2 separate regions of the Homo sapiens genome follow, and region 1 is linked to region 2. The links are contacts of gene promoters, found by promoter capture Hi-C in blood cells and fetal thymus (Javierre and others, 2016). All regions are on one chromosome and are shown on one strand. Each heading gives the region's core, a stretch centred on a gene start or on the middle of the fragment in contact. The rest is flanking DNA. Distances are from core to core; before and after follow the strand shown.

What was found. Contacts are between HindIII fragments. The CHiCAGO score rates a contact against its expected background, and 5 or more counts as called.
Region 1: a fragment that was not itself captured here is called in contact with the fragment with the promoter of NCOR1 in region 2 in 1 of 17 cell types (M2 macrophages); the score reaches 7.0 in M2 macrophages.

Annotation. Positions count from the first base shown.
Region 1 is chr17:16,271,311-16,277,869 of GRCh38, reverse strand. The region is part of intron 2 of PIGL (phosphatidylinositol glycan anchor biosynthesis class L); the gene reads right to left. Among named protein-coding and RNA genes, the nearest start is that of MIR1288, 7.4 kb to the left of the region's middle. The HindIII fragment of the contact is 3,447 bases long and covers 1,741-5,187 here.
Region 2 is chr17:16,213,850-16,220,252 of GRCh38, reverse strand. It overlaps NCOR1 (nuclear receptor corepressor 1), which reads left to right and starts at 4,719. Exons shown (of 46, transcript NM_006311.4): 1 at 4,719-4,891. It overlaps PIGL (phosphatidylinositol glycan anchor biosynthesis class L), which reads right to left and starts at 3,043. Exons shown (of 7, transcript NM_004278.4): 1 at 2,792-3,043. The coding sequence starts at 3,026. RefSeq lists enhancers at 3,018-3,267, 4,454-4,513, 4,091-5,006, 5,007-5,923 and a silencer at 4,784-5,253. The HindIII fragment of the contact is 4,024 bases long and covers 3,156-6,403 here.

The sequences.
Region 1 (6,559 bases), core at 2,215-4,714, 59 kb before region 2:
GTGTATGTTGTTAATCATTATAATTGTTATGTAAAAATTGTTGTATGCCACAGAAGTAACCAAAATTCTTAGTCAACTGTGGCTTTAATAGAGGCTATCCTAAGGTGTTTTGTCACCCACGGACAATTGTTGTCTTGTCTTTGTCCTCTTTAGAAGGTGGTTTTATAATCAATTATAGAACTCTAACAGGTGTTATTGAATGTAGGTTTCTAATAACTTTGTAAATTGTGACATTAAAATAGAGGAAAAAACTTTCAGGACTCATGAAGAGCTGAAATGTTCATGAATATCAAGCAAAACAGGAGTTAACTGCATGGATTGACCTAACAGAAGACTGAAGCAATCTTTTTTTAACTTTTGGCTTAAAACGTTGCTGATCCTTTCTTTTGTTTTTCAGAGCCAAGGAAATTTTTCTTTTGAGCTATTAACAGCTTTTAACAATTGAGTAAAGTATACTCCTGTGAACAAAATTTGAAGCATATTTGTTTCTCTCTGCCCAATTTCTCCAAAATTCAGAAACCATTTGTGAGCATTTTTAACTTATGGCAATATAATTATTTGCATAAATGCAATAAGAATGTTTTCTTTTGTATCAGAACACAATTGGAGAAACTTTTTTTTCACCAAGGCTTTGACTGGAATGACACTCTTTCCTTTAAGGAATCAAACTTGACTTACAGTGCCAATAAAAGCCCCTTAGGAAAACTGGCCTCATACATTGTCTACGTAGTCCCTGTACAGGGTTCTTGACCTGTGGTAAGTAAAGAATGTCACTTTATGACAAGTCCAGGAGCCCCAAGTTATCTTGGGATCTCAAGAAGAGAGAAATTTACCCAACTCATATAGATATTTGAGGGTACAGACCCATGGCTGGGCTCAGCTTTAAAAAAGTCTTATCTGAGATTCCTTCTAAGGAACAAAATTCCATCAAAGCTGATTTTAAAAGCCTATGTGAAAAATAATTATTGTTGCTGCACTTTATACAAATAATGAGGCCAAGTATAACAAAGCAAATCAGTTACCATGATTTGTCTTTAGTAAAAATGGGAGACTGGAGAGAAAAACGTTATGTTTCAAAAACTATGGTACGCATGTTATCAGAGTCTAGTCATTTTATTTTATTTTATTTTTTGAGATGGAGTCTCACTCTTGTCACCCAGGCTGGAGTGCAGTGGCACAATTGTGCCTTACTGCAACCTCCACCTCCCAGGTTCAAGTGATTCTCCTGCCTCAGCCTCCTGAGTATCTGGGATTACAGGTGCCCGCCACCACGCCTGCCCAGTTAATTTTTGTACTTTTCATAGAGACAGAGTTTCGCCATGTTGGCTAGGCTGGTCTCAAACTCTTGACCTCAGGTGATCCACCCGCCTTGGCCTCCCAAAGTGCTGGGATTATAGGTGTGAGCCACCACACCCGGCCAGAGTCTAGTCTTATCAGTAGTTTTTAAGTTTTTTTTCTGCAATTTAAACTGACTGCTTATTCCTGAGAACCAACCAGTGATCTCTGGCTGCTACTTAGAAGAAACAAGAGGGATAGATAATGTAAAAATCTGGATCAATATTCTAATTCTGGGCACATATTGGAATAAGCTAGTGACCCCATATCAACTTGGTTTCAACAATTGCCCAGTTCATGGAAAGACTTCTTATTTAGTTTACTTTGAATAATTTTACTTATTTTGCTTTACCATTGTGGAATGTGTTGCTGTTGTACTCTTTGTGTAGGAATGCAGGATAAGCTTACTGAATGTTTTCTTAAATTGAACACTTATTAATCTTTCAGATATCACCTTTTGTCAGAGTTATAAATGGCCCTCACCATAATGACGCTTTCTTTCTCTTTTTTTGAGACAGAGTCTCACTCTGTCACCCAGACTGGAGTGCAGTGGCCTGATCTCGGCTCACTGCAAACTCCACCTCCTGGGTTCAAATGATTCTCCTGCCGCAGCCTCTTGAGTAGCTGTGATTACAGGCACCCACCACCACACCTGGCTAATTTTTATATTTGTAGTAGAGACAGGGTTTCACCATGTTGCCCAGGCTGGTCTTGAGCTCCTGATGTCAAGTGATCTGCCTGCCTTGGCCTCCCAAAGCACTGGGATTATAGGTGTAAGCCACTGCACCCAGCCTCCATACTGACACTTTCTGACAGAGCTCCTCTCTACCCCAAATACAAGAGACCCTAATAGGCAGTAATATCATTGCCCCTATTCAGCCTGAAGAAGTCACAGAAGATGGATCTTCATCCCTCTACAGCCCTTAGGATTAAGGGTTCTCTTATAAAAGGAAGGGGTGAAATATGTCAGAGGCATTTGAACCACAGCAATTCCATCTTGAATAGGGGCTGGCTAAAATAAGGCAGAGACCTACTGGGTTGCATTCCCAGGAGGTTAGCATTCTTACTTATAGGATGAGATAGGAGGTCAGCACAAAATACACGTCATAAAGACCTTACTGATAAAACAACCTGCAATAAAAATCCCACCAAAATCCCACCAAAACCAAGATGGCAATGAAAGTGACCTCTGGTGGTTCTCATTGCTCATTATACGCTAATTATAATGCATCAGCATGCTAAAAGACACTCCCACCAGTGCCACTGACAGTTTACAAATGCCATAGCAACGTCAGGAAGTTACGCTCTATGGTCTAAAATGGGAGGAACCCTCAGTTCTGGGAATTGCCCACCTCTTTCCCAGAAAACTCAATAAGCCAGCCCTTGTTTAGAGTATAATCAGAAAATGACTGTAAGTGTCCTTAGTGGAGCATCCCACTTTGCTGGCCGGTGGAACAGCCATTCTTTATTCCTTTACTTTCTTTCTTTTCTTTTTTTTTTTTTGAGACGGAGTCTTGCTCTGTTGCCCAGGCTGGGGTGCAGTGGTGTGATCTCAGCTCACTGCAGCCTCTGCCTCCCGGGTTCCAGCCATTCTCCTGCCCCAGCCTCCTGAGTAGCTAGGATTACAGGCGCAAGCCACCACACTCGGCTAATTTTTGTATATTTAGTAGAGACGGGGTTTTGCCATGTTGGCCAGGCTGGTCTCAAACTCCTGACCTTAGGTGATCCGCCCCCCTCGGCCTCCTAAAACGCTGATATTACAGGAGTGAGCCATAGTGCCCGGCCTATCCCTTTACTTTCTTTTTTTTTTTGAGACGTAGTCTTGCTCTTGTCCCCCAGGCTAGAGTGCCATGGGGCTATCTCAGCTCAATGCAACCTCTGCCTCCCGGGTTCAAGCGATTCTCCTGCCTCAGCCTCCCAAGTAGCTGAGATTACAGGTGGCTGCCACCACGCCCGGCTAATTTTAGTATTTTTAGTAGAGACGAGGTTTCACCATGTTGGCCAGGCTGATCTCGAACTCCTGACCTCAGGTGATCCACCCGCCTCGGCCTCCCAAAGTGCTGGGATTACAGGTGTGAGTCACCGCACCCGGCCTCCTTTACTTCCTTAATAAACTTGCTTTTGCTTAAAATAAATAAATAAATAAACAAACAAACAAAGTGACCTATGTTCTACAGCAATGTTTTCTAGCTGAGATCCGCAAGAGAACTCTTGCCTTCCTCTTCTTGGCCTCAGGTCTGAACTGCTTGTCCTGTGACCCATTTCCTTTACACGCTCCAACCTTCTCACGTCTGGTTTCACTCTTATCTCCTACATCTGGCCTTGTCCTGACTTCCACACTTGACACCTGACACTATCTTCTTGGTAATAACCTTGGTTCCCAACTGACCAGTACTAAGGTTCCCTATTTGTGACAGTTAGCTTCAGAGCACTTTAAATAAATGCCTGTCCTGATTAAGTAGACTCTAGAAGCCCTGATGATCTGGGGCTTTGAACCACGCCCTGTGAGTATCACGGCCATCGATGGAGGCCATCAGTTTGCTAATGAGAACATGAGCCTCTTCACTAGCCAGGAGAACCTGGAGACCTCACCCTCCTCCAGAAGCCCTGTTCATGCCTCTGACATTTCTGCCCTAAAAAGTTTCCAATGGCTTAGTTTAGCTATAGGGCAAAAGGGTTTTCCCTCAAAGAAATGTTTCCCCCCTTTAGGCAGAGTGATATTTTTGGTGTCCAGACTAACAGGGATGAAGAACAGATGAATCATTTAGTGGAGGTGATGCATTATGCAGTCACTAAATGCACACATCTGGGAGACCCTTTGTTTTTTTTCCTCCCTCTTATCTTTGACAACCAATTGGTCATCAAGCCTTAGAATAGCTACCTCTGTAGCAGCACTAGAAACTATCTCCTCTCAATTTCCCCTGCCACTGCTTTTTTTTCTGACTCTGATTTCTCACGTGACCATACCTATTGGTTCCACTGCACCAAGTCTGGAGCCCCCTTCCCAAGCTGCTTTCCACAGTGTTGTCAAAAGAAGTCTTTCTAAAATGAAAATCAGATCAATTTATTGCCCATTTTGACGTACTTCAAAGCTCCTTATAGTTTTAAGACATTTCAATTCCATAACCTTCACCTGACACATGGTCTTTGTGATCTGGCATTTGCCTGGCTCCCTCACTTGATCTTCTGTCATATTCCCTCAGGCATGTGGACTCCAGCTATCTGGAAGAACTCATATGGAATGCACCTGGCTAATTCCTACTTGTCTCTTAAAGCTCAGATCACAGGCAACCTGTCTCTAGTGTCTTTCCTGGCTCCTGCATCTGAGTCCATGGTACCTTTGTGTGCTGTCCTCACATCATTAGTTGGTTTGTTGGCTTTTCCTAGACTGCAAGCTCCTTGAGGGCAAGGACTTGACTTGCCATTTTGTACTCCTAGGACCTGATATTTGAGATATAGTATATGCTCAAAAAATGAGTGCTAAATGAATAAACAAACACATTTCAAAGATTAATAAAGAAACAAAGTGAAACCCATGTTCCTCCCATGTCCTCTCAGAATCCTGTTTCATCCCAACTTCCACGTGAACCTGGCTCAGTGGGGCACCAGTTTTTTGTAAATACCTCAATCACAACTACAGAGTGTGCATCGAACACTGAGAATCATAGAGGACCAGGCAGATGACAAGAATGGCTGAAGGTGACCGACCCAAGTGGCCAGGGAAGTAAGGAGGTAGGAGGACAGCTGGAGCCAGGGACTGTTACAGAAGCCAAGAGTGGTTTCTGGATTGGGGGAGTGGTCAGCATTGGCCAGAGCTGCTGAGAGGTCCAGTAGGACTGGGACTGAAAAGCTTCCTACTGATTTCACAAATAGGAAGTAACCAGTGACTCTGGAAAGAGGAGCTTCAATGGCAGCGAGAAGTAGTAGGACGATGAGCCAGAATTTAATGCATTGGGGAATTAATAACAGGATGTGAAGACAATGCATGTAGATAATACTTGGTTATGAAGGAAGAGAAGTAGAGCAGTAATGGGATGAGGAGGGTTAAGTAGAGGTTTTTGTTTATTTGTTTTTAATGATGAGAGAATCTTGAACAAACAAATATGGAAAGAACCCAAATAATACAATAGGAATAGAGGCAAATGAAAATTTCCAGGAAGGCATGCTATGACTATAACAGATTACATGGCATAGGTCAGAACTATTGACAAAATGTCAATAATGAGGCTGTAAATAACAGATGTCCAGGTGTAGTCCTGGCAGCTAGTTCTAGGAAACAGATTGCTGTTAACTATTCTAAGTTCTGGGAATTTATTTCATAGGTAAAGCAATGGAGTGAGTGGAAATTTGATATTCACAACTTGTTTCAGGCTAAGGATAAAAGGCAGAAATAAGCAAGCTCACAGTAGGGAAATAGTGACACTGACTTTCACAAAATGGGATAAAAAGCAATGGCTTTGGGGTTAGGGTTGCCAATAGCAGATGCCAGTTAAAATTTGATTTTAAGCTGGGCATGGATGGAGGCTCATACTTATAATCACAGTGCTTTGCGGGGGCCAAGGTGGGAAGATTGCTTGAGGCCAGGAGTTTGAAACCAGCCTGGGAGACAGAGGAAACTATGTCTCAAAAAATAATGAAAATAAAATAAAATAAAATTTGAATTTCAGATAAACAAGTGAATAATTTTTTAGTATAATTATGTTCTGGCCGGGCACAGTGGTTCACGCCTGTAATCCCAGCACTTTGGGAGGCTGAGGCGGGCAGACCATGAGGTCAGGAGTTTGAGACCAGCCTGGCCAATATGGTGAAACCCCATCTCTACTAAAAATACAAAAATTAGCTGGGTGTGGTGGTGTGCGCCTGTAGTCCCAGCTACTCAGGAGGCTGAGGCAGAAGAATTGCTTGAACCCAGGAGGTGGAGGTTGCGGTAAGCCAAGATTGCACCACTGCACTCCAGCATGGGCGACAGAGCAAAACTCCATCTCAAAAAAAAAAAAAGTGTTCTATGTGAAATTTGGGACACACTTAACATTAAAAAATTATTGTTTATCTGAAACTAAAATTTAGTTAGGCACTTTGTATTTTATCTGTAACCCTATTTAGGGTACGTACCTATTTGCAGGACAATTATTCTGTTTATTGAACCACAAAATGCTAGTTGTGAAAAAACCTCAGAGATAATCTAACACAAGGCTCCTATTTGATGAAGAGAAGCCTGAGGGTC
Region 2 (6,403 bases), core at 3,470-5,969:
CCTCAGCCTCCCGAGTAGCTGGGACTACAGGCGTGGACCACCACAGCCAGCTAATTTTTGTATTTGTAGGAGAGACGGGGTTTCAACATGTTGGCCAAGATGGTTTTGATCTCTTGACCTCATGATCTGCCCGCCTCGGCCTCCCAAAGTGCTCGGATTACAGGCATGAGCCACCATGCCCGGCCTATATTTTTTATTTGAAAAAATTTTCAATTCTGGTCCCAAATTTTTATGAACCTATTGAAAATAAGGGTAAGTTTATTAAACAGCTATACCTATAATGTTTTGCAAATAAAATCCAGGCTTCTTTTGAAGACCTTGTAACAAATTTGCTTATAATTTGACTCCTATAGTTGTAATATAAAATACAAATACAACTAAAAGCTGGCCAGCCGGGTGTGGTGGCTCACACCTGTAATCCCAGCACTTTGGGAGGCCGAGGTGGGTGGATCACTTGTCAGGAGTTCGAGACTAGCCTGGCTATCCCAGCAAAACCTCAGCTCTACCAAAAATACAAAAATTAGCCCAACATGTGGTGCACACTGTAGTCCCAGCTACTCGAGAGGCTGAGGTAAGAGAATTGCTTAAACTCAGGAGGCGTAGGTTGCAGTGAACTGAGATTGCGCCCCTGCACTCCAGCCTGGGTGACAGAGTGAGACTCCATCTCAAAAAGAAAACTAAACAAAAAACCCCCCACCAAACCTAGAAGCTAAGAAAAAATGGTGGCATTACTTGTAACTATTTGCAATTAATATTCTTAACAGAGCATAAATTTTAGAAGAAAAGTGCTTGGGCTCCAATTCTTAATAAATATGTAAAATGGTTTACTTTTACTGGTAACAAAGGTTTTTGGGGGAGAAGATACTAAACAAATTAAGAAATTTATAAAAAATGGCCAGGTGTGGTGGCTTACGCCTGTAATCCCAGCACTTTGGGAGGCTGAGGCGGGCAGATCAAAAGTTCAGGAGATCAAGACCATCCTGGCTAACACAGTGAAACCCCGTCTCTACTAAAAACTAAAAACAAATAAAAAAATTAGCTGGGCATGGTGGCGGGCGGGCGCCTGTAGTCCCAGAAAGAAGGGCGTGAACCCAGGAGGCAGAACTTACAGTGAGCCGAGATTGCGCCACTGCACTCCAGCCTAGGCGATAGAGCAAGACTCCGTCTCAAAAAAAAAAAAAAAAAAATTTATAAAAAATGTCAGTCAATGCTACAGAAAGTAGTATATTAAGACAGATACTCTCATTAGTGCCAGTAAGAATGTAAATAGGTAGGCCAGGCATGGTGGCTCACACTTGTAATCCCAAGCACTTTGGGAGGCCAAGGCAGGTGGATCACTAGAGGTCAGGAGTTTGAGACCAGCCTGGCTAACATGGTGAAACCTCATCTCTACTAAAAATACAAAAATTAGCCAGGTGTGGTGGCATGCGCTTGTAAACCCAGCTACTTGGCAGGCTGACGCAGGAGAATCACTTGAACCCGGGTGGTGGAGGTTGCAGTGAGCCGAGATCACGCCACGGCACTCCAGCCTGGGCAACAGAGCGAGACTATCTCAGAAAAAAAAAAAAAAAAAAAGAGTAAGTTGGCATTTTGTTTTTGGGAATGTGTTTTGCAATGCAAAGCCTAAAAACAGCCAATTTTAAAAATTAATACTCATGAAATAATATAAAATACATAAAGATGTTCTCTGCTCTTTGCAATAAACTAGGAAAAAACCCTCTGAATGTACAAACAATAAGGGATGATTAAGGTTTATCCCGATGAAGCCATTTAACAGGCTATACATTTAGATCTAATTAATATAGGTAGATGTTTAAAGTTTCATGAGGACACTGCTCTTATCTAGCTTTCCACTTTTGTATCCCTAGGGCATAGAATAAGGCCTAGCACATAAATGTTTAATAAGTATTTGGTAAATAAATGAAAAAGTAATGTCGAGTAAAAACGATATAAAATTTTATAAAATGTGATTTCTGTGAAGAAGCTGTATAGAAAAAGAATTGGAAAGACACACAAACAAATGGGAAAAGAGGTCATGGGCAATTTAAAAAAATAGCTTTATTGAGGTATACTTTGACATGCCATAAAATTCACCCATTGTATGTGTACAATTCAATTACTTCATTTATACAACTGTTCAATTATCACCATATTCCAGCTTAATGGTCAATATTTGCTTTGTCATTTGATCTTTTCTCTATGGTAAGCAAAAATCTATTATTTGAAAGGTTCCTTCACTGAAAGCTGGGTGGAGTTGAACTCTAAAATTACCTACAAAATTACTTTCTATCTAGTCATCTATGTCTAATTCTTCAATTTGACACATGCATGTTACTAGCACAAGCTGCATTTTAAAGGCAGCAGGAAGGTCTTTTACTATCATTAGAAGTTAACTTTAAGGATTGAGCAGGCACGATACAGCATAGATTGTTTCGTGTGCTATATAGTAAGGTCAATATTCTTGCTCCTTCTACAAATAAAAAAAAGTTCCACAGAATAACAAGTACAGGTGGAGTTCCCAACGGAAATGCAGGTACTGAATACAACCAACTGCAACTGTTTCTCTGCTCCTCAATCCTGCTGGCGTAGTACGCGAGCTGCCGACGTCCCCCAACCCACCAGGTAAGCCGGCCGCTCCTGTCCCTAGGCTGTGAGGGGTTCAGAGGTAAGACCTTCGGTGTATTCACTTAGCTCCCTACGGAAAACTTCGAGAAGAAGGCGACTGAGATCGGTTAGCACTTAAATCCCTTTCAAAGCCCCGGCTCCCATCGCCCCTCCTATGGCCTCCTACCTGCAGAGAAGCAAAGCAGGTACACCCAGTGCCTTAGGCGGGCCAAGCCTAGCACTGTGGGAGCAAAAAACATGGCTTCATCGTCAGGGTGCGCTATGACCAGCAGGGTCCGGCTTTCGGCTCCCAGCCGTCCTCCCTGCTCCCGACTCTTCATTCGTTCTGAGGAGTCCCAAACCCAGAGGAAGCCCCATGCCAAGACCGCCAACGCCACACACAGGAGCCACATTGCTTCCATGATGGGTAAGCAGCACTGAGCCTGCGCAGTAGGAAAGGCTGCCTCTGACCCTGACTCCGGCTGGAAAACTTCACCGGGGAATGTTGGGTTCCGCTGTTAAGTCCCTCCCGCCGACATGCTCCGGAAGCTTGAGGTTTTAACGTTAAGGGTTCTCTTGTGTTTTAACACAGAAGTCTCCATGCCGTCCAGTTTCCTACCCTAGTCCTACCACACTGTACAATCGGTTTAAAAGGAAGCGTCTTATATATAAGCTCCCACTTATAGGAAGAGTTCCTTCCTCTTCATTTTCGAATTCATTTCTTAAAACTCGGGCCTTTCTCGTAATTATAGGGTTAGACAGCCCGTTATCCGTATGACAGTTTTCCAAAATAGCCAGTTACACCAACTTTGTTATTCCTTCTCACTTTTGGATGGCTTTCTTTACCTTTTTTTTTTTTTTTGAGAGGCTCTGTCGCCCAGGCTGGAGTGCAGTGGAGCGATCTCGGCTCACTGCAACCTCTGTCTCCCGGGTTCAAGCGACTCTTCTGCCTCAGCCTCCCGAGTAGCTGGGACTATAGGCGCGCGCCACCACGCCCAGCTAATTTTTGTATTTTTAGTAGAGAGGGGGTTTCACCATGTTAACTAGGCTGGTCTCGAACTCCTGACTTCGTGATCCGCTCGCCTCGGCCTCCCAAAGTGCTGGGATTACAGGCCTGAGCCACCGCGCCCGGCCCTTTCTTTTTTTTTTTTGAAACGGTCTGGCTCCGTCGCCCAGGCTGGAGTGCAGTGGCGCGACCTAGGTTCGCTGCTACCTCAGCCTCCCGCGTTCAAGCAATTCTCCCACTTCGGTCTCCCCAGTAGCTGGGATTACTGGCGCGCGCCACCACGCCCGCTTAATTTTTGTATTTTTAGTAGTGACGGGGTTTCTCCATGTTCGTCAGGCTGGTCTCGAACTCCTGACCTTAAGTGATGGCCCGCCTCGGCCTCCCTAAGTGCTGGGATTACAAGCGTGACCCACTGCGTCCGGTCGGGCCTGGCTTTTCTAAAGGAACGTATGCGTGCGGTTACGAGGAACCGTCGTTTCCCCAGCAGGGTGAGGCTGAGCGTGCACTTAACAGTCGCGAGGGCCACAGGCTCCTCTTGCAAGTAACTTAAGGTTAAGGAGCAACATCGTGGACAAATCGGCCTCGCCCAGCATTTCAGTGAGGGCTTGGTGCGAATTCCAGCCAGAGCCCTAGAAAGTATCTTGGGCAGGTCGAAATGCACCCCTCCAGCTCCCAGCCACGAGGGGACCGGCTTCCCTGTACGCAGCTCCGGCCAGAGGAGGCCGCCGCCGCCCCACCACGCCGCGGAGGGGTTTGCAGGGTCCCTTCCACGGCCTGGAGTTTTTCCTTTTCCCACGCCTGAGGAAGGCCTCGGGCGCGCGGAACAGACGGGCAGGCGGGGGGCGCACAAGCCCAGGGCACGATGGCAGCAGCGCTGGATCCGGCTGGGCGCTGCTCGGCCCCGTATCCGTCCGAGAGGACCGCCGCTGCCAGGCCTAGAGGAGACATGAAGAGACCGGGCGCAGCGCGACCCGGGAAGCTCCGCCGAGGTAGGAGAGGCGCCCGGCCAGCGGAGGGAGTTGGTCTCCCAACTCTCCGGAAGGAGGAGGAGCCGGCGCTGGAGCCGCCTTAGCCGCGGCTCCGCGGGCTGGGGGGAGGGAGAGGGGTTGAGTCAAGATGGCGGCCAAGGTGGCGAAGCAGCAGCCGCGGCGGCGGCGGCGGCTGGAGTGAGCGTCCGACTCGCCGCGCCGAACGAGGTCCCGGTGTAGGGCCGCGCGCCGTGGCCGCGTCCCACTCCTCAGGCCGGGGCGCACGTCGGCTCCCACGCTTAGCCAGCTCCCGGTGAGTAGGCCCTGGCGCCTGCAACCCCGGCCTCCGGGCTCCTGCTAGTCCGGGGGCTTCCGAGGGCTCCCGGGGCAGCAGCCGCTGGGACGGTTTCTCCGCCGGGCGGGGGGTGTCGCAGGCCTGGGCAGGTCGGGACCCGTCCTGGCCGCCTGGCCTCTTCCACTCGGCAGCCCAGGAGAGAGCCGGGCGCGGCGGGGAGCTCGGGCTGGGCTAGCGGAGGCTTATGGAGTTTGGAGGAAGAATGGGCTGTGGCCGGGCCGGGGCTGGCCCCGAGGTGTCCTGTGCGGAGGGGCGTGCGGAGCCTACAGGGCCTGCGAGGGAGAGCGGGCAGCCGGTGCCCCGGGTGGGGCCGGCGCAGGTGGCGGGCCTGGGCTCACTGAGGCGGAGTTGGTGGCCGACTTGGAAGTGTAGAAGGGGCTGCGGAGGTTGACAGCCATGGACAAGTGCGTGCAGAGTAAATTAGTTCACCTTTCTAACAGACCGCTTCAGGGTGTAATGGCGAAGGCTGGGTACTGGTGGAGATGGCAAAGATCCGAACACTATACCTTCTGCCGTTTATTGTTGGTGTTTTCTTAAGCGAAGTCCGTAAGTGCACCCCTTTTTGGGGAGAGAGGAATTTGAGAAACTGTAGTTGTGAAATCAGCCTTTATGGAGAGGAGACTGAATTCTTCAAATTAACTGGATCAGGAATAGTCATGTATTAAAGGAATGGATGGGAATAAGTGATATGGACGAAAACTATTTGCTCAGGAAGTGTCAGTTTTCTTTATGTGATGTTGCATGCTGCGGTGCCTCTTCCACAGAGTTAACCTTGGAGAGTAGTAGTATAGGTAATTCTAATCTTTGGGATTAGTATGTAAACCTGCATCAGATTTGCTTCTCTAATTATATCCTAATTATATTGAAATTTACATTCCTTGTGTGCACCCTGGTGAGGCAGTGATGGAAGGCTGAACATGGCACTGTGCAAGGAGCAACAGGCCCGGGATTTAAAAATGCCTACAAAGATTCATTCATTCGTTCAATATATCTTGATCAATAGCTGCTGATGCTGGGTCACATGTGATTGTCCTGTGGATAACTGAAGAGTTGATGGCATCGTTTAATTTTTAATAGCTTTTTAAAATGTTTTGATGTACCTTTTCATGAAGATATTTATTGGATGAACCAACTTGTACTTGCCCGGGCTCAGGAGCAGACCAATTTTAGAATGTTATTTAGACAAGGGTAACAATTACAGAAGAAGTAACCGCAAGTTACTGGAGAGAGAAATCTTGTATCTTTTTTTCTTTTTCTGTTAACATCCGGTGGAAGTTTATTTATTTGTTTTAATATTTATAGTACCCAGTTGCTTGGCCTTGCTTTAAGCACACCTGTTAATGGAAATCAAGATTAATTGTATATATGGATATAGCTATGTATAAAATGCTCACAGTAGGAACTGATTACTTACAATACTAAAATACTCTTTCCTTTTACAAAAGGCTTGCCATATGTTGAACTACTCCC